Regions from separate parts of the Homo sapiens genome. Here region 1 is linked to region 2. The links are contacts of gene promoters, found by promoter capture Hi-C in blood cells and fetal thymus (Javierre and others, 2016). All regions are on one chromosome and are shown on one strand. Each heading gives the region's core, a stretch centred on a gene start or on the middle of the fragment in contact. The rest is flanking DNA. Distances are from core to core; before and after follow the strand shown.

Region 1 (3,724 bases), core at 529-3,028, 290 kb before region 2:
TGTATGTGGTGGAAGAGAAGATTCTGTACCAGCAACACAACATGTTGAAGTATGAATTTACCCCCATGATTTCTTTCTTTTTTTAACCACTTAAAGTACAACTTAGTTTCCAAATGTAAAAATGAAGTCAACTTTGAGTTAGAATAAATAACTCGGCTTCAAGATTCAGGCCTACCTCTAACTTGCTGCATGAATAGTGGCAAATCTTACTTGTTTTTTGGCAGACACAGCAAAATTGAATTGAATATAATCCTATTTGCCCTACTTCTCAGGCATTCTTTAACAAGCAAATGGAAATAAAAACAAATCACATTAAATAAGGATGAGGTTATATTTATAGTTAGTTGACAACTCACTTTTCAAACCTCTCTTGCCTATCTTCCAGTTCCATTCTCTAAAGAATAAAAGCGCCTGAGTTAAAAGTGTAGTGAGACTGGTGCTGTTCCACTGCTCCTCCTCTTAATATTAGCCAACTGCTACTGAATGTTTTCTATGTGCCGGGAACTGTGTAAGCCTTTTATGTGAATAAATTTACTAAATTTTCTTTTTTCCTTTTTTTTTTTTGAAACGGAGTCTTGCTCTGTCGCCCAGGCTGGAGTGCAGTGGCACAATCTCGGCTCATTGCAACCTCCGCCTCCCTGGTTAAAGCGATTCTTCTGCCTCAGCCTCCCAAGTAGCTGGGGCTACAGGCGCTTGCCACCACGCCTGGCTAATTTTTGTATTTTTAGTAGAGACAGGGTTTCACCATATTGGCCAGGCTGGTCTTGAACTCCTGACCTCGTGATCCACCCGCCTCGGCCTCCCAAAGTGTTGGGATTACAGGTGTGAGCCACCACGCCTGGCCTTACTAAATTTTCATAACTGCCATATGGATAGGTACTATTATTGTCATTTGACACCTAAGAATGAGATTAAGCAACTTGGAGAAGGTCACATAGCAAAGTGGCAGTGGCAGAACTAGGACTGATTTTTTTTTTTTTTTGTATTTTTAGTAGAGACGGGGTTTCGCCATGTTGGTCAGGCTAGTCTCGAACTCCTGACCTCCTTATCTGCCCGCCTCAGCCTCCCAAAGTGCTGGGATTACAGGCGTGAGCCACCGCGCCCGGCCAAGGACTGATTCTTGAGCCATGCTCTTAACCACCACTATGTGACTACTTTAAAACTACTGAAAATGCATCAACTGCTGCTGTAGAATCATTAATTATCCTTAAATATAAAAGAGCATCATCTCTGCCATCCTGTTAACAAATCCTGTTTGTTTAGTCAGCCTGATTTCCATGGGGAAGCAGAAAGATTGGGCTATCATTGGAATATGTGATTCCTGAGAAAAACACCGTTACAATGGCTGGAAATGGAAGATGATGTCCAGCACCAACTACCTTGAGAATAGGCTATAAGTGGAGTACAGAGGATCTAGTGTGGTTCTCAGAGGATCACTGGTGTGTACTGAATCTCTACTGTATGTCTTTTAATATTAATAGGCTCATTATTCTTTTTTCTCTCCTTTCTCAGACACATTTAATCAAACCAGGCACCAAAATGCTAACACTCCTTCCTGGAGAAAGAAAGGCTAATATTTATTTTACTCAAAGAAGAGCTCCATCTACAGGCATTCACCAGAGAAGCATTGCTTCCTTCTTCACCTTGCAGCCAGGTATGGTGACCCATATGGGAATACTTCATTATCCAGAGCAAAAAAGGAGTGTGTTCATTTGTCCATGTTAGACCATTTATGAGAAATGGTGAAACCAGTGCATTGTGTTAAACTTAGCCTGTTAGAAGAGGTTATAAAACATAAGTTGTTGCCTTTTGAAAAGCAATATATGTGTACTTTTACAAACATACTTTTCTGGTTCTGTTTTGCTCAGCTTAATATTAAATATTTGTATTTGCTGACAGAGCAGTCAGGAAGGGTGTACTTGGGAGTTGGAGGTGCACTGGGGAGTTGCCCTGCCATTAGTTAGGTGGTATATATCTTGGGTTGGCCACAGTGGGTACTCTGTCTAAGGTTAATTAATAATTGATACTTTTGTGTGACGCTTCTCAAATTAGTGAAAGGTTCAAAGATGCTTTTTCTTAGCCTCACATAAAGTTGGCTTATGTCTCTTCCTTTGGCTGTTCTTTGCTTCCAGGTCCCTGTTCAGGGGAGCAGCTGACTCAGAGCAGGCTGGGCCTTAAACAGCAGGGTTCCTGCCACTTGGAGGGTGTTGGGAAGAGTGCTCTAATGCCGGGTGTGATTCTCAGGATTGCTTTGCCTAAACCTTCAAAATGCCCTCTCCCTCCTCCAAACAAAAACGTACACTCTTTTGCTTTATGTAAGGGCAGATTTAAAAAAAACAAACAAAAAACCCACTTTTTCCACTTACAAATTCTGGTGTATTTTATAGTCTATATTGAATGCTAAGGAAAAGTTGAGAATTCTCACAAAACCTAGTTTCTGCAGTATAATTCTTATTGTAGAAGGAAAGAGGAAATCAGTTATTCTGCTTTGTTTTTATAATTAGATCTTGGAACAATTTGAGCCAAGTTGGGAATTCCATGTCCTCCATCCTTATCTTAAGGCAGAACAGAATCCACTCTATGCCTGATAAAATTAACAGGCTGGACACTAGTAGTTGTTTCACTATTCTACCTACTGATTGACTTAGCATCCTAATTGTGTCTTCACTCCCTTTCCAATGAAATGCCTGGGGAGTGGAGGACCCACGTTTTTCACACTGTCACCAGAAGGTTTCTCAGAGTTGGATAGTTAATGTCATCTTTAAGACCTTACAAAACTAGTATGTGTTTAGCATGTTTCTTTAAGGATAATGTCTAGGAATGTATATTTGACCAGGATCACCATTTAGTAAAAAACCACATTAAATAAAAAACAAAAGCAAAACTGATGTGCCGTATGTTAAACAAACCTACAAATGAAAACTCAGCTGGTAAAGTAGGCTATGGTCTGATCGTATGCGATGTTTGACTTTATTAGGTAGGTGATGGGAAGTATCCATGTATTTGAGTAGGGAATATAAGATCTGATGTTTTAGAGTTTATTCATGATAGACTGGCAAGATTGAAAACAGGAAGATTGGCTACAAAGTTATGTGAAGAGTCTTAAGACTCCTGCACTAGGTAGTAATAGTAGCTGATACTGATTTCAGAAAAAGCCAACTGAATCCTGCTTAGGGCAGTTTTTCTGCAGAATAATATTTGTTCATTCCTGTTTTATTAGGAAAGACAAATGGCAGTGACCAGAAGAGTGTTTCATCTCATACAGAAAGTCAGATCAACAAAGAGTCCAAGAAAAATGCGACCCAGCTAGACCATTTGATCCCAGGCTTAGCACACGATTGCATGGCATCCCCTTTAGCCACTTCAACCACTGCAGACATCCAGGAAGCTGGACTCTCTCCTCAGTCCCTCCAGACTTCTGGCCACCACAGAATGAAAACCCCATTTTCAACTGAGCTATCTTTGCTCCAGCCTGATACTCCAGACTGTGCTGGAGATAGTCATACCCCACTGGCTTTTTCCTTCACCGAGGACTTGGAAAGTTCTTGTTTGCTAGACCGAAAGGAAGAAAAAGGGGATTCTGCCAGGAAATGGGAATGGCTTCATGAGTCTAAGAAGAACTATCAGAGTATGGAGAAACACACCAAACTACCTGGGGACAAATGCTGTCAGCCCTTAGGCAAGACTAAATTGGAAAGAAAGGTGTCTGCCAAAGAAAACAGGC
Region 2 (3,831 bases), core at 674-3,173:
GGGAAGAGGAGCAGGGGAGAAGAAAGCCACCAGTTAGGAGGGAGCATTATTACCAATAATCTCCTTGATACTCCTGCCAGGTAAGAGTTTTTATCCCCATGTTGCAGATGAGGAAACCGAGGATCAGAAAGGACAAGTGACTTGCTCAAGATTGAAGATGGCAAGAGAAATTCTCTTCCACATCCAAAGCGGCTACCTCTTCCACGTCCCCAGATTCAGAGATATTTCTTTCTAGCCTCCCTTCCCTTGCCAGCCCCCCTTCCTTCAAAACCACTTCCCTGGGGGCTGCCCCACCACCCTCCCTCCCTCATTCCTGGAGAAAACCCGCAGGATTCTCCCACTGGAACAGATGGCCATCTCAGAAGTCCTGGTCAAATCTTGCCAGTTTTTAAAGGGTCTATTTTGGGATGCAATCAGTGTGATAAACGGTACATCCCCTGGCCTAGTGGCCCAGCCCTAATGGGTCTCTGACCCCACCCCCCACCAGCAGGCACCACCCCACATTCCCAATGCCAATGCCAGTCTCAGCTGGGAGGCGGCCACAGCTGAACAACAGAGTGGGGCCAGAGGAGGAGGGAGGCGGGCCCTCTAGGCCCAGACACGCTGGCACTCCTTGGACCAGGGAGCTCGGGCTCCCCTGGCAGAGCCCTGTAAGGCCAAGAGGGGATGGGATGAGGGGGTGCTGTACTGTCAGTTGTTTCCTGATGAGGGGAGAAGCTGTGGCCCGAAGTAGGTGGCAGGGAGGTGGGAGTGTGCAGCAGTCCTGGGCTCTGGCTCCAAAACCAGCAGGAAGGTGTGTGTGACCCCAGGCAAGCCACTCTCTTCTCCCTCCCAAACAACGAGACCTGCGCTAGGCTGGGTCTTCTGGCTTCAGGGGAAGGTGCCAGGTGACAAGTTCCCTGAGCGTAATCAGAGACTGGGGGAGAGAAAGGGGGGGAGGCCCCTCCCAGCCTCCCAGACGCCCCAGGGAGAGGTGGCGGCGAGTCTGTCGTTTGCCTGGGCACCCAAGGGACTCTGGAAGCCCGAGGGGAAAGGTGCGAGAGAAAACAGGTTTCAAAAATAGTCGGGACGCCAGGCTTGCCACCTGGACCCGGCTAGAGGAAGGGACGTAAGGGTCTAGATCGCCTGATGTGGGGCTCTCCCGAGGCACCCCAGGCGGGGCCTCGTTCCCAATTTCAAGTACGTACCTGCGACCCCGGGCTCACACCTGGATGGGTGTCTGGGCACCCGGAGTCAAAAGTTGGCCCGGTGGGTCGGGCAGGGGGCGGGAGAACGGGCCAGTGGGCTCCTGACCGCCGCAGCTGCTGGCTGGGGCGCAGGGGTGCGGGACGGGGGCGTCTTCCCAAGCCCCTGCGCCCTCTCCTCCTCCCCTAGGCACCGACGACGAGCGCCTGCCTCCCCCTAGCTGGCCAGGACAGCAGGGCGGGAGGTGCCGCGGGTGGCGGGGGCCTCTTCTCCCAACCTGCACCCCACCCCATGCCGGCTGCACCTGAGGACCCCGAGCTCGGGCTCCTTCCTCAGCGCTGCCCCTCCTCGCAGCGGCATCGAGCGGCCGGCGAGTAGGTGCACAACTTGACCCCGGCCGACCCCCTGCCCCGCAGGGCCGGGAAAGGGCCACGCCGGGACCGGAGCGCCGGTGAGGCCCCGCCTCTGCCCAACTTGGCCGCACTCCGGGCGCCCGCGGAGGCCCCGCGCGCCTCTGCCCGATCCCGGCCCGGCCCGGCTGACGCGCGCACACTCACTGCGGTGCCGGCCACCGCCCCCCCAGCTCTGCTTGGCCAAGCTGGGGCTCCGGATCAGCGCCCGCCCCGCCGACTTGAGCGCGTCCATGGCCCGCTCCGGCCGCCGCCGCCGCTGCCGCAGCCAAAACTCCGTCAGGAAAAACTTTCCGCCCGGCCCTGCGGCGCGCGGGCTGCGCGCTCCTCCCCTCCCAGCGCCAGCTCCGCCGCGGCGTCCGACGGGGCGGGGCGAGAGAGGACAGGCCCCGCCCCCAGACGGGCCGCGCCCCCGACGGCCGGTCTCGCCCCGCCCGGTCCCTGTCCAGGCTCCAGGTCCAGGCACCAAGAGTTTCCGAGGCCGCCCGAAGGCGCCAGAAGATAGCAAATCGCAAGCCCTAGACGCCCCCGCTTTCCTCCTTTTCCCCAATCCCCACCCCGTAGGGGCCTGAGGGCCTGAGAGCAGCGGCCTAGGATTTCCAGTGACCATTTTACAGATGGGGAGACTGAGGGCTCCTCCAGTGGTGAAAGATCTTGTTCAGGGACAAAAGCAATGCGATGTCCAGGGCAGTGGGAGACTTAGGAAATAGTGGAGGCTGTAAGCCAGGGATATCCAAACTTTTGGCTTCCTTAGGCCACATTGGAAGAAGAAGTGTCTTGGGCCACACATGAAATACACTAACACTAACGACAGCTGATGAGCTGAAATATATATATATACACACACACTCATGTTTTTTGTTTTTCTGTATTGTTTTTTTTCCCCTGAGACAGAGTTTCACTCTGTTGCCCAGGTTGGAGTGCAGTGGTGCGATCTCGGGTCACTGCAACCTCTACCTCCCGGGTTCAAGCTATTCTCATGCCTCAGCCTCCCGAGTAGCTGGGATTACAGGCATGCACCACCATGCCTGGCTAATTTTTGTATTATTAATAGAGATGGAGTTTTACCATGTTGGCCAGGCTGGTCTCGAACTCCTGACCTCAAGTGATCTGCCCGCCTCAGCCTCCCAAAGTGCTGGGATGGCTGTGAGCCACCACACCCTGCCCAAAAAAATCTCATAATGTTTTAAGAACCTTTACCAATTTGTGTTGGGCTCCATTCAAAGCCGTCCTGGACCTCACATGGCCAGTGGGCCACAGGTTGGACAAGCTTGCAGTATAGACCCTTGTTAGGCGCAGGGTCGGTATATAAAAATTTGCCTTTAGCAAGTCCAGCCAGGCACTTTACTCATCCTCGTAGCTCCCAGGCTGCTCCCTGGCACCACCTGAGCATGCTGGGCCACCCCATGCCCCCGCAACTTCCCAGGTAGCCTCACAGATGGTATGATCTGGAACGTGCCCCTGACACTGACTTGCTGTGTGACCTCAGGCAAGTACTTCCCCTCTCTGAGTCTTGTTTATCTGTGAATGAGAGTCAATGCTATCTCTAGTGATCCTTCCAACCTGCCAGGGTCAAGAATCTGCATGACCTTGACCCTGACCCCAAGCTGCTTCCTAGGAGCATTCGGAGGGCAGTCTGAACCCCAGAATTGCTCAGGCACAGATGTTCTAACTCCAGGATTGGAAGGATTTGTTCTAACTCTCTAGGATGCCATGCCTTCCTTTCAAACTGTGCCAAAAGGAGCCAGAGGGAGGACACACACATCCAAGCCACAGCCTGGCTTCTTTTAGAAGGGGGTGCCTCAGGCAAGGCCAACTTCAACCTCTGTAATTACTCCTGGCTCAGAAGCCAGCAGTCCTCTCTGTGTCGGGAGAAAGATAGTGCTGTGCTGTCCCCAGCTGGATAGGGCGGCCTCACTGACATTCCCCTGTTTATAAACCAAGTGCTTTGTTAGCCAGTCTGTCCTTGGCTTCCCCAGCAACACTGCTTAGGTGGACCCACTTTACAGATGACAGCCCTAGGTCAGGGAGGGAAGCATTCACTGATAGTCTCCGAGAGTCAGAGACTGGGATCAGACTCAGGCCCATAGGCAATGGGGTAGAGTATAATGCCAGGGGTTAGAACCCAGCTGTCCTTCTGGTGGTTGTGAACTCACCCTTCTGAGCCTCATCTGTAAAAGGGACAACTATATCTATTTCACAGGGCTGTCCTTAAGGACTAAATAACAGGAGTTGG

What was found. The method cuts DNA at HindIII sites, captures the fragments that hold promoters and counts their contacts. A CHiCAGO score of 5 or more calls a contact.
Region 1: a fragment that was not itself captured here is called in contact with the fragment with the promoter of LDLRAP1 in region 2 in 1 of 17 cell types (total CD4 T cells); the score reaches 5.5 in total CD4 T cells.

Annotation. Positions count from the first base shown.
Region 1 is chr1:25,835,343-25,839,066 of GRCh38, reverse strand. It overlaps AUNIP (aurora kinase A and ninein interacting protein), which reads left to right. Exons shown (of 3, transcript NM_024037.3): 2 at 1,513-1,654; 3 at 3,221-3,724. Among named protein-coding and RNA genes, the nearest start is that of MTFR1L, 17 kb to the right of the region's middle. The HindIII fragment of the contact is 4,616 bases long and covers 1-3,724 here.
Region 2 is chr1:25,541,698-25,545,528 of GRCh38, reverse strand. LDLRAP1 (low density lipoprotein receptor adaptor protein 1) reads right to left here and starts at 1,923. Exons shown (of 9, transcript NM_015627.3): 1 at 1,743-1,923. The coding sequence starts at 1,830. RefSeq lists silencers at 1,424-1,603, 1,634-2,093 and an enhancer at 2,194-2,253. The HindIII fragment of the contact is 5,608 bases long and covers 1-2,867 here.